5 separate regions of the Homo sapiens genome follow, and all the other regions are linked to region 1. Evidence: promoter capture Hi-C in 16 types of primary human blood cells and fetal thymus (Javierre and others, 2016). All regions are on one chromosome and are shown on one strand. Each heading gives the region's core, a stretch centred on a gene start or on the middle of the fragment in contact. The rest is flanking DNA. Distances are from core to core; before and after follow the strand shown.

Region 1 (2,590 bases), core at 32-2,531:
TTATTCCAGTACCTGTCATTTATCACTTTATTCAACACGTCTTTGCCAACTCAATAGCTTTTGATCTCATTCTGCCTCCATTTCGTAATTTCCGCCCTCTTAAACATATCAAATACTTACTTTGAAAAAAGAACAATATCGAAACCCACCGAAAGAAATCCACCCAGACACGACCGAGCCAGACACGAAGGTAAATTTTCAAAAGGCAAAAAATATAAAAAGCATGTGATGTTCAAGAGGCAATAGCAGGAGAGCAAATGAACACACACACACACATACACACACACACACACACACACACACACATCCTTGAACAAAACCCTTCTCGAACAAGTTATTTGATCTTGACTAAAATCAGCAGTTGGATCCTCTTTGTAAAGCTGACAGCCAAACTCTGACAATGGCAAAATACTCGAGCCCCAGCTAGTGGCGCTACCCCTTTAAAAAAGGAGTCGATCCTGCTTGCCTGCAGAAGTGAATACAGTATTTTCAAGCTTGCCCTGTAATAAGCATTACTAGGGGGAAAAATAATAAAGAAAGAAGAGGGGGACAGACAGGTTTACCACCTCGCCATGGTCGCTATTTCTGCCCTGGGGAGTGTCTTCTGGGAGGAAATAAAGTTTAGAGCTGGATAAAAGTTGCCGGCTGGTCCTCTCTTCCCACAACAGCTGGAGCTCCGCTATGCAAATCGGATCCTTTGGCGTACATCTTACAAAGAAAAAGTCGCCAAGGGACAAAATTCTTGGTTTGCCTTCAAGGTGGAATTGAAAAGCCTTGTAGAAAATGTAAGGTCCGTGCAAGCCACACGGTGAGCCGACCCACTGCAGGGGGGGAAAAAAACACCAAATAAATAATGTAGCCATCAGAGCACAAACATCTATTCCCAGACACATTTACACACAGACATCCACTCTCTTAATACAGACGACCCAACAGATATAACGCTGGGTGGAAAAATAATAGCACCCACAAATTTTCTGCTTCCCTAAAAAAAAAAAAAAAAAAACTCAGGGCCCCCCACCGCCACTTCTACCCACCTCCCCATTTGAGGCGGTAAAATTACATTATGTATGTATGATCAGTGCAGGGATTTTTTTAAACAATAAAAATGATTTTGGGGGATGCAGAGGGTAAAAGTTTGGTGAAAAGTTTGTGGGGGGTGTGGGTGGGTGCAGAGGTGTGGGTGAGCTGGGGGGTTGGGGGGTGCCGGGGGGTGCCGGGATCGGAGGAGCGGAGGAGAGCGAAATACCTGGAGTGAGTTGGGCTCCATCTCGACGTTCTGAATTGATTGAACTCAACATTCTCTCCAAACTTGTTGGCTTGAATGGATTGCATCAGGTCCTGGCAGGGAAACGCATTCTCTGCCTTCAGCCGGCGTAATGTCTCAATATAAAACTGAGCTCTTGCCTCCCTTCGGGCACCGAAATGATTGAAAATATGTCCTAATATTTCTATAACGACTCAATTTTCAGCTCCTGAAAAAACTATGTGGGTTTTCTTCCAAAGATGGATTGATCAAATTCATAATCGAGAGAAAGGCGCCATACGATCTCGGCGGGAAGAGGATGGATCAAGGCAAAAAACACACAAGAAGATTTGTAAAAATAAAAAGCACCCTAAAACTGTGTGGAGATGTGATTCCTCTCTCTCTAACCGCTCCTGTCTGGGATATCGTCTGATGAGATTTTTGGAGGAGAGGAGGGGTAGCGAGCTCCACTGTGCATCTGACAGGACCTGCTTGTATATGTCTAATATAAAGAACATTTCCTGCAGAGATTCCGGGGCGCTGCTCCTCTTTCTAATGCTTCTTAGCAGATTTGCTGTTATTAGACATGTAGATTTGTTTGATAGTTAAATTACGCTTCCTCACTGCCATGTTTTCGAGAACTAATCTGTTAAATTATCTTTTGATGCCTATTTACATGGAAGGGAAAAGTGGGTTATCGATTATATAAACATATAAATATTAATGCATTTGTTCGCTTCGCAAAAAAATACTCAGCAAAAAAAAAAGAGACAAGTGAGCAGTGCACACACATCTTAGGATTTCGCAAACAATATTGAACGGACAGCGACTGCATTTAGGGACTGGAACAATAAACGATGCATGATAAATCAATAAATGCGAGAAGCGAGTCTGCTCAGAATATGAATTCAGGCTCCCGGTTCTGCGTGTGCATTCTTTAATTTTGAAGTATATACACTAGTACGTGTTTACAATGCTGATGGACGCCAAGGGCGCTCTCAAATGATAATGTGTTTATATAACCCAGCGCTACAGGAATAATATACCGACTCCTACCCCACCCCCATCCCCTCCCCCGCCAAAAAAGGGAGGGGAGCTTCCTCAATAATAGTTTGAAACTGAAAAAATCCATTTGCAAACTAGTTAAATACAACCAGAAATTAAGCTGTTGAAAACCGGGGGCATGAACCGTAAGACAATAAAGGCTTTAAATGTGTATATTTATTGTTCTGGAGCCCTGGAGCATTGCGAGGTTTGCATGCACGGCTATTATGCAAACACAGAGAAACTTAAGAGCGACAGAACAAGGAACAGGCAGAGACTGCAAAGCCCTCGCAAGCTCCG
Region 2 (2,590 bases), core at 37-2,536, 480 kb before region 1:
TGCAGACACTGAGGGTGCTGTCCACAGTCCCATTCTTAGACCAAGAGCTCCAGTGTCCTCCCTGGAAACAAGACTCTTTCAGTCCCACTTTATGTACAGAAAGAGTGATTATTTGAGGCCTGAATACAGAAACTGATGGGACTGGCCCAAATGAACGTTTAAAAAAAAAAAAGACTTTGTTTATGTTTAAAAGTTTAAGGCAATTTCACTGCGCTTTCATTTAAAACACTTTGTTTTCTTTTTTTAAAATATCATTGCTTTTTTCTATTAGTCCAGAAATGACATACAAAAATCACCTTGTGGCTGGGTACCGTGGCTTACAACTATAATCCCAGCACTTTGGGAGGCCAAGACCAGTAGATCATCTGAGGTCAGAAGTTCGAGACCAGCCTGGCCAACATGGCGAAACCCCGTCTCTACTAAAAATACAAAAAAATAGCTGGGTGCAGTGGTGGGCGCCTGTAACCCCAGCTACTTGGGAGGCTGAGGCAGGAGAATTGCTTGAACCCAGGAGGCAGAGGTTGCAGTGAGCTGACGTCATGCCATTGCACTCCAGCCTGGGTGACAAAGTGAGACTCTGTCTCAAAAAAAAAAAAAAAATCAACTCGTAATTTATCCTCAGGCATACTCACAAAAATGTGAACAAACATGTACAAGGATAATAACCAAGGCACTATTTCTAATACTAGGAAAATGGAATAAAACTATATATTCATCAATAACAAACTGGTTAAATGCATCATGATGCATCCATACCATGGAATACTACACAACAGTCAAAAAGAGTAGTATAGTTCTGTACTTAGTAAACAAAAGATGCCTGAAATCTATTATATTAAAAACAAAAACAATTCAGCGTGCAATTGGCAGAACAGTATGTGTCACAATTTCATTTAGAAAAATGGAATCTGTGTGTGTACGATTGCAGGCACACAGGAAAGGTCTGGAAGGACATTTACGGAACTTAACAGTGGCTGTCTCTGAAGGACAGGATAGGATGTGCTTGGATTGGAGAGGCTACTTTTACACATATAATTCTCTCCTATTCAAGTTTTTCCTGTTTTAACATGTCTTAGTTTTTCAGTTGGTGCTCAGGTGGCAGCCTTGGATTAACCATAACATGTAACTGACCCATGCATAGCCCACTTTTATTTAGACAGATATTTTTAACAATTAAGCATTCTTGAACCCATCACTCCAGGCAACTACTACCCCAGATCTCATGTTCATTATTACTCGTGTAATTAATTAGTAAAATACAACAAATAAATAAGTTCAAAAAATTAATTTTGTTGCCTTTTAAACTCACTGCTCTTGAATGAAGCAAAAATGTTCAAATTTAATTCTAGGCCTTTCTTTACGCATAGAGTAACCACATCTGCCCTTTTTTCAACAGCACAGTGCGGGTCACTCTGGTGGCCATTAACGGGTCTAGACACTAACTTCCCACCAGGAAACACCAGAAACCAAAAGGGAAACATTTTTCATTAGAGATTATTTCCCTAGGAGCAAAGTAAGTCAGAGGCTGATTCAAATCCATCCTAACTACGTAATTTAAAAAATGTCTCGCCTGAACAAAAAATGTCTAGGCTTCCCCTCAAGGTAGAACGTAAGCATTTAAGTGATAGCAAGTAATGATCTCTTTAATCTATGGAGTGTCTCAGGAAGTTCTAATTATTACATTTTAAGAGACAACACAAAATAGAAGAGTGCCAGAGGGCAAAGAAAAGATGAAATTAAATCAATCTCTATAATAGAACTCAAATTATTTGGAAACCTACCTTTTAGGATGTTTTACTCCATCAATTTTAATGTCCTTTGATTCCATGAATTTCTAAACCTCTATTTAAAATGAAATCTGACATTCTGCATTTGGGAAATACACTGACTTGTAATGTACACTTTTCTAGTTTGGGTTAAATCTATACTTACTGATAAAGAAATGCTTCTCTAAGTATGATGATTTCTCAAGCAATAGCTTCTATGATCTATAACTTGTGAAAACCAATCTCAACTCTTTGCAAGTGGGCAAAACTTAAATATAACAAAAAAAAATACATCATTTGCCAAAAAGTCAAGTCTCAAACTTAAATCATAGAAGTATAGCAATATCAGAAAGTCTTTCCTCTGGGTGCCCTAATGTCTGCTTCTCCCAAATATAAATTAAATTAAATGGATTCTCAGCTACTAACATTTAATTAACCTGGGCAGATAATACAAAATGGCAAATAAACCAAACTTATTTATACTGGAGGAATGTTTTTGAACTTAAGACAGCATCTTGCATTGACTTTATAATACGGAGACTGTCAAGAATGAACAGCTCACTTAGCTCACCCTTTCTGCCTTCCCATTCAACTCACCCTTGCACGCCATTTGGTGCTAGGAATGGATCCCACCATGGCTAGGCTGTGCTAGTCTTCTCTCTAAAAGCATAGTCTGTGGTTTACAAATTCCCAGTTGAGAAGGAATTAGATATTTGACTTTAATGCTGCTAGGTTGCAGACCGTGCACACAGAGGGTAAATGATATCAAAGCCTTGTTCCTCCTGGTTCAACTATATCAATAAGAAATGCAGTCAAGGCACCTG
Region 3 (2,590 bases), core at 43-2,542, 340 kb before region 1:
ATGTTTTTAATGTTTTGTCTAGGTCAGAAGTTCCATGAGGTTTTGGTACCATGTTTATTTTGGTCATCACTTTACACCCAGAAGCTAGCATGGTGCTTGGCTCATAGTAATTGCTCAGTGACTCTTGGATGGATGGCTGCTCTTCATTGCCTGTAGTGTAAAGACCAAACATTTTTCTCCAGTCTTCCATTTTGACCCAATTTTTTTTCTAGTCATATCTTCTATTACTCCTAAACATAAGCTGTCGCCTTTAGCAGACATTTCTCTCCTTGTCCTGGCAACATAACCCATGCTTCTGACACCCAATTAGCTTGTGAAATAACTACATTCTCTTAAATATCTGTTTGTTTATCTATATATAATATAATCTCTGTTACCGTTCCAACTAGAAAGGATGTTTCCTTTCTCTCAATTCCTAATGCAGTTAGGAGACCCTTCACCACTAGATGGCACTTATGCTGTGCAGTCTCAGTTTCTCCAAAGTGTTCAGGAAGCTAAAGACAATGGCTTGGAGATGCCACAGATTGAAATGAATACATGGCTGACTCGTGTGTACACTAGTCAGATAATGCACTTTTACAAATATTTTCTTATCAGTACATTTTTGAAACAATAGTATATACCTCCATTGGTCCTTAAGTAATCACTAGGTTATTGGCTAAAAGTCTTGTACTAGAGAGCCTGCTGCTACATTTGAGGTACTGTCACCTAAGGAACTGTTTCTAGTAATATTTTTCTGGATAAACAAAATTATCACACAGGACGGTAGACCTACATTTTACAAAGTACGTAAATGGCCAAAATCTGAAGAATTGCATTCAGCTAAGCAAAATATTCTTCAGAAAATAACTGGAATATGTAAAAATTTGTTGCTTGTTTTATAGTTATTTATATTTGTTTTTATCTTTATAATACAAAACAAAACATGTTTTATCCTTGTATTCTTTTGCTATCAAACATGTATTTTTATGTGGTATTGTTCATTATGTGCAATAAATTTTTTGTGAATAAATTACTATAGATCTTTGAGATTTTATAAAAACTAAACATATCCTTCATTTCTTGCTTCTAATATAGTGTCACTCAGTATATAAATGACATATGTTAAGTTGCTGTTAAACACTCAAATGCCATGATAGTCAACATCTATTGTCATTTCATAACAGTTTATTGATTGTAGCAATTCATAATATTAGAAATAACTGTACATTTAGAAGGAGGCTCAAGTAAAAGTATTTAAAATAAAATAAAAAACTATTTCCTGCCCACAATTACTCAAGTGTAAAAATTGAACTTATTTCTGCATGTGTTTCTTCTTTCCAAAAGATAATTTTAAATTAAGGAACGGAAACTCTGAGAAAATCGGATACTTACGTAATGTCTTTTCATCTTTGCCTAGACTTAATTATATCTTGTATGTGTTTGTAAAAACAAAATAAAAAATGAATTCACCTTTATAAATCCATTTTTTCTTGATATTGGGATGAAAATGTGACCTTTGTTTTGGTAAAGATGAATATTTGCAACAAAGTGTCATAATGTTTTGAGATTACATTGATAGCCAGAAAATACCTGGGTTTTCTGTTTCCAGCTACATCACTCCCTGGCCAGGTCTTTATGAAACTAAATCACAAATTTATTATTTCTGCTGAACATCAAATATTTACCATATGTAAATGTAGTATTTACCGTAATTATATTGTGGTAATTAGCTTAGTCACCGACTACTAATTTAATGAATAAACCAAATCAGTTCACCAAGTACCTTAGTTTTCACTTTTGAAAATGATAGACAGACTTCTGGGACTTGATAGCATCAAGTCAGCTGTCTTATTATGACTCTCCCAGTTTACCATTAAAATGGCAATGAAGACATAAAACAAGACAAAAGTTAGAGTACTGTAAACTGAAACTGAGCCATTTGCAAGAATCTGGAAGGAAGTTCTATCATTGGAAGCTGAATTCAGAAATAGAGTTGATGGGTTACAAATCCATTGCTATCTGAAGAGCACAAGACTACCTGGAAAATCGGTATCCAGCTTCTCCTCTTGTGGAGCTGATATCTACCCTCCTCTCTTCGGCATGGGATAGAAGAAGGCTGACCCACAGGTTGTGGGTGTACAGCAAAGGAAGTCAGGATCCATGTCCCTCCCATGATAGTGTAAATAGTTAATGCTCTGTTAATCCTAACAGAGCAAGAACAGCTGTGAATAAGTACAGTTGTGAAATGAAATGAGTCAGCAGCTGTGGTCAAGCAAGAAGAAGTGGACTTTTTGGCAGGATATCAGCCAAGTCATAATTACAAAACAATAAAGCATTCTCATAAAAATCAAAAACAAAATTACAATGTCTGTTATGCCAATATAATTTAACAATTTTAGAAGTTCTAGCTAAAATAATAAGAATAAAAGATGAAACTATTGAAAATAAATTCATAGGTGGGAATTGAGCAATGAGAACACATGGACACAGGAAGGGGAACATCACACACTGGGGACTGTTGTGGGGTGGGGGGAGGGGGGAGGGATAGCATTAGGAGATATATCTAATGCTAAATGATGAGTTAATGGGTGCAGCATACCAGCATGGC
Region 4 (2,590 bases), core at 23-2,522, 310 kb before region 1:
CATAACTATTATTTACCTAAAAGTTTTAATTACCCCATATATATATATTTTTTTTTTAAGTAGAGATGGAGTTTCACCATGTTGCCCAGGGTGGTCTCGAACAATGTATTCTTAAATAAACAAAGGATAAAAACCAGTTTGGTATTTTCTGATACAGCAGGTAAGGATCAAGTAAAACTTTTAAGAATAGTGTTCCTCGGCTGGGTGCGGTAGCTCACGCCTGTAATCCCAGCACTTTGGGAGGTCAGCACGGGCGGATCAGGAGATCAGGAGATCAAGACCATCCTGGATAACAGGGTGAAACCTCATCTCTACTAAAAACACAAAAAATTAGCCAGGCATGGGGGCACACGCCTGTAGTCCCAGTTACTCGGGAGGCTAAGTAAGGCAGGATAATTGCTTGAACTTGGGAGGTGGAGGTTGCAGTGAGCCGAGATTGTGCCACTGCACTCCAGCCTGGGTGACAGAGTGAGACTCCATCTCAAGAAAAAAGAATAGTGTTTCTCTTTTAGTTTTTAGTATATTTCTAATGGTCTCTAAGATCTTTAAGCTTAATAATGTTAAACATTAAATACAAATCAGAGTTTTTTGTCTTTTGATTGTCTTTCTTCTTTTCTCATGAAAATAATTTTCCTTAATGCTACTTAAAAATTATTTGAAAACATAAATTTCACAATTGCTAAGGTATATAAATAATAGTTCTGTTATTTAGATCACAGGATCTGTTCTCAAGCTATAATTCTTGTCCTTCTAAATGGCATTTCTTGTAAGGCTAAGTTAGTTCATTAATTTTCATAGGGAGCCATCTGTGGAAATAGTCACATTAAGGGAAGAAAAGCCTAAGAGCTATTCCCCTCCCATTGTCAATCCAAATTTGAAAGGGTGATTTACTTCAAAGTGATTGCTTCAAATTCAGAAAACTTCACAAGAATGTTCTTGAGCAAGACATTCTCAATAACAGGTACTTAACTGAATTTCCTACACATTATAGAAAGCATTTTGTTAACTAAAGCTTTATCCATTGTCAATATGGTGAGGGGTGTGACGGTTAAAAAAAAGTGTGAGTCTTTGAGATCAAGCCTTTTCTTGTTTTAAATATTATATACATCATTCATTTTAATAAAATCTGTACTAAACAAGTCAATAACACTATTTAGTGTAGTAGACTTTGGATAAATTGTTTTGAAAATACTTTTAACTATTATATTTATCATAGAACCTAGAAAGCAAAATTATTATGAAGCACATGGGATTTTAATCCAATTATATTAGTTTCCTTAATATCTAATCATATCAACTATTCAGATTTTTAAAAGTAAATATAGCAAAAATAATTTTTCAAACATTTTCCTGTAGGAGTTTACATCTGATTTAATTAATATAAATTTAAAATAATTATATTAAACTGATACTAATCATACCTCATGGTTGGTTTAACTTACAGCTATGCATTACATATTTCAAACATTCCTTGTCGTATACATGAAGATATCCTTTTTTGTCATTAGAGTATATATAAAGTCTAAAGCTTGTTTTTAGCACCAACATTTTGTCTTCATTGCTGATTAACAGGACTTCAGACGAAGCACTTTTCAAATAACTCATTTATCTTTACAGCATGTTTGTAAGGAAGATGTGAGATATCTGCATTACAGCCAAGAAAGAGGCATTAATAATAGACTGACTTTGGTTTTTGTGTTTGTATTTTATTTTTTAATTATTTTCTTTGGAAAAAAATTCAAGGTAATTTATACATAGAATAGTATAAATGAACCCATGTGTACTCTCACACATTGCCCCCACATTAGATATATTTTGAAGCAAATCCTAGAGACCATATCATTTTACTTGTAAATATTCCAATTGTCACACTTAAGAAAATTTATGGTTTTATATATAAGTTGTCATATGTAGATATAATTATATGTAGTTAATATATCGTTAAAAATCCAGGCAGTCTTTAAGATCCCTAGTCTCAATTTTTGTAAGTTTTTGAGTTAGGATCCAAATAAGGGCCACATATTATGGTTGATTGATTAGGTCTTTTAAGTCTCTTTAGAAAAAGGAATGCTCATACATTGTTGGTGGGGGTGTAAATTAGTTCAGCCATTGTGAAAGACAGTGTGTTGATTCCTCAAAGACCTAAAGACAGATACCATTCGACCCAGCAATCCCATTACTGGGTATATACCCAAAAGAATATAAATCATTCTATTATAAAGACACATGCACACATATTTTCATTGCAGCACCATTCACAGTAGCAAAGACATGGAATCAACCTAAATGCCCATCAGTGGTGGGCTGGATCAAGAAAATGTGGTACACATACACCATGGAATGCTCTGCAGCCATAAAAATGAACTAGATCATGTCCTTTGCAAGGACATAGATGGAGCTGGAGGACATTATCCTTAGCAAACTAACACAGGAACAGAAAACCAAATACCACATTTTCTCACTTATAAGTGAGAGCTAAATGATGAGAACACATGGACATATAGAGGGTAACAACACACTCTGAGGCCTATCGGAGAGTGTGGAGGGTGGGAAGAGGGAGATCAGGAAAAATAACTAATAGTTACTAGGC
Region 5 (2,590 bases), core at 56-2,555, 260 kb before region 1:
AATGCTTTCAGAAGCCAAAGCTTATTTCTGTATCTCCTGCTGTTTTGGAGTGTCTGTACCTTTCCTCCTGCCAGTTAGCATGGATAATCAAAAGTGAACTGTAAGGAGAAATCTTCCATTTAGGAAACATCAATTTGTACTAAGTCTAATCTAAAAGACTAATATGGAGCATGTGGTACATTCAATAGGAAAATGGCATTTAAATATTAATACTAGATAAATACACTCTTGCTGCTCTCTTTGATAATTTATAAGTCATACTCTTCCAGAAGGAAGTAAATCAGTTTTTTTTCTTTTATGCTGCTGCTCAGTAACATTATAAGGCAATATGTAAATCAAGGAACCATTTTCTTAGTCAGAACTGACAAGGGGAAGTGAAAATGTTGGGTCCAATTTCAACCTCATTTCCTTACAGCCTAGATTTGTGTTACATGCTTGATCCTGACTGGTGCTTTCCAAATTAAATGTATATTTCTCAAACCAATATCTTAAGTGGTAATGTTCCAACAGTCCAAATGTCGATTACCAAAACAAACATTTGTTTCTCTAGCAAGTGTTTTCACACAAAAGCATTTGATTCTCGTACTGCAGCAAACAAACATTTGCTTTAGGCGGTTAAGGCAGCCAAAAGTTCTTGCAGAAACATTTCACAGGCTGGCTGGCATCCCTCTTTGGAGCAGGGCTTGCTGATGTCCGAGATTGCATGTGAAGCCAGCTGCTGACCAAGAGAATCCTTTGCAAGACATTGAGACCATTAAAATGATTTAGCATTTTTCAAAACACATCTTTTGGGAAAATGTGCTTCTGGTTATGATGTTTCCATTAGAAAATGTCTTCATGTCTTCACAATGCTTCATTTGCTAATATAAATTCAGCCTTTGATATAATCACATAACCAAAGTCTTATGAAAGTTCACAAAGGCACATAAAAACATTCACACAACCCAGGAATCATGATTTATGCAAGAGCCCATGAGAGTTCATTACATAAATAGTCCTATTACTACATTAAAGTCTATTTTCTCTCTTGAACAAGATGTAGATTATCTGTGTAAATATATTTTCTTAAGTGCACATCTACTTTACTGTCAAGATACAGCTTCCACATAAAAACCCTCTTGTTTTTCATATTATTTAAATGCTTTTGGAATGAATCAATATTTCTGAGGAAGTAATTTACTTAAATACATGTTCTTTAAAGCATGGGGAAATTGATTCTTAACTTCTTTCCAAAGACAGGGTTTCCTAGCAACTGGGTCAAGATTGATTCTTTGGCTAGTTCTAAACTGAGAATAGTCACTAGCCCACTTAAAGGCAAAGAAGAGTTCTTCTTAGTTAAATGAATGAATGAATGAATGAATGAATGAGTGAAAACACACACACACGTGCACCACACACACAAAATGTCATTTAAAGCGTATTTGATAGAATGCGTGACAATTTGGACCTCTAGCTGATCAACTTCCAATAAGAGTTTGCTGAATACTTTCCATGAGTTTGATTCTATTTTGGCATTGATGGGACTGGGGAACCATGATACAGAGAGCAGGTAAACGGCTGTAATCATCCTAGTAACAATGCATTTAGCAGGTATTATGGGCTAGTGCCTACAGGTGAAATAACTAACCATCAGTAGAAAAAGGCATATCAGGCCCGGCATGGTTGCTCACGCCTGTAATCCCAGCACTTTGGGAGGCCAAGGCGGGCGGATCACGAGGTCAGGAGATCGAGACCATCCTGGCTAATATGGTGAAACCCCCGTCTTTACTAAAAATACAAAAAATTAGCCGGGCGTGGTGGCGGGCGCCTGTAGTCCCAGCTACTCCGGAGGCTGAGACAGGAGAATGGCGTGAACCTGGGAGGCGGAGCTTGCAGTGAGCGGAGGTCGCGCCACTGCACTCCAGCCTGGGCAACAGAGCGAGACTCCGTCTCAAAAAAAAAAAAAAAAAAAAGGAAAGAAAAAGGCAGATCGAGGGACAACCAAGGTCTGTGTGATGTTAAAGCTCTGGAAACTATACTGTCTTTACATGGAAAGCCCAAAGTATTTCTTGTCTTCAAGAAACTTTCAACCTAATTGTAAAGAAAACATACCCCAAAGAATTAGGGAGCAACCTGAGAGAGTAAATGTGTAAGTGTTAGTAATATTAAAGTAACAAAATATTGCGTTTATTGAGTCCTTACTTAATATCAGGGACTGTGCTAAGGACCTGGCATCCTGGTGGAGATGGAGCTTGGGCTGGGCCTTGAAGCAGGTAGGGAGACGTGAAAAGCAAGGAGGGAAGGTCCTTCGAGAAGATGAAACAGCATGAGCAAAGGCCTGGGGGTGGGAGGTGTGCTGTTTGGGACCTGACAGGCTTGGGGTGACAGGTTGGTGTGGGGAAGTTGCACTGAACGAGTAGGTGGGCCTGTGTTATGGTGGAGTCTGAATACCAGACTGACATGCAGAATTGACCCAGCGGGGAAATGTGTACTCGTTCTAGGTTCTTGAATATTGGGGACATGATAACTCCCCCTGTAATTTCTAGAACAAATGGAATATGCATTTGCTGTTAGAATAGCTACTGCCAGAGTTCTCTCCCAAAAAGCTTAA

The links. The method cuts DNA at HindIII sites, captures the fragments that hold promoters and counts their contacts. A CHiCAGO score of 5 or more calls a contact.
Region 2: a fragment that was not itself captured here is called in contact with the fragment with the promoter of ARID5B in region 1 in 1 of 17 cell types (total CD8 T cells); the score reaches 5.7 in total CD8 T cells.
Region 3: a fragment that was not itself captured here is called in contact with the fragment with the promoter of ARID5B in region 1 in 17 of 17 cell types (activated CD4 T cells, fetal thymus, neutrophils and 14 more); the score reaches 23.1 in activated CD4 T cells.
Region 4: a contact is called between a fragment that was not itself captured here and the fragment with the promoter of ARID5B in region 1, in 4 of 17 cell types (neutrophils, non-activated CD4 T cells, activated CD4 T cells and 1 more). The highest score is 6.0, in neutrophils.
Region 5: a contact is called between a fragment that was not itself captured here and the fragment with the promoter of ARID5B in region 1, in 2 of 17 cell types (monocytes and total B cells). The highest score is 6.8, in monocytes.

Annotation. Positions count from the first base shown.
Region 1 is chr10:61,900,390-61,902,979 of GRCh38, reverse strand. ARID5B (AT-rich interaction domain 5B) reads right to left here and starts at 1,281. Exons shown (of 10, transcript NM_032199.3): 1 at 1,250-1,281; 2 at 567-821. The coding sequence starts at 1,270. RefSeq lists an enhancer at 1,089-1,591 and a silencer at 2,590. The HindIII fragment of the contact is 3,094 bases long and covers 497-2,590 here.
Region 2 is chr10:62,377,035-62,379,624 of GRCh38, reverse strand. All of the region lies in intron 2 of ZNF365 (zinc finger protein 365), which reads right to left. Among named protein-coding and RNA genes, the nearest start is that of ZNF365, 4.0 kb to the right of the region's middle. The HindIII fragment of the contact is 3,368 bases long and covers 1-2,590 here.
Region 3 is chr10:62,243,060-62,245,649 of GRCh38, reverse strand. All of the region lies in intron 3 of RTKN2 (rhotekin 2), which reads left to right. Among named protein-coding and RNA genes, the nearest start is that of LINC02621, 15 kb to the left of the region's middle. The HindIII fragment of the contact is 7,871 bases long and covers 1-2,590 here.
Region 4 is chr10:62,209,572-62,212,161 of GRCh38, reverse strand. All of the region lies in intron 9 of RTKN2 (rhotekin 2), which reads left to right. Among named protein-coding and RNA genes, the nearest start is that of LINC02621, 48 kb to the left of the region's middle. The HindIII fragment of the contact is 516 bases long and covers 1,015-1,530 here.
Region 5 is chr10:62,164,782-62,167,371 of GRCh38, reverse strand. No RefSeq gene overlaps it. Among named protein-coding and RNA genes, the nearest start is that of LINC02621, 93 kb to the left of the region's middle. RefSeq lists an enhancer at 536-665. The HindIII fragment of the contact is 2,565 bases long and covers 23-2,587 here.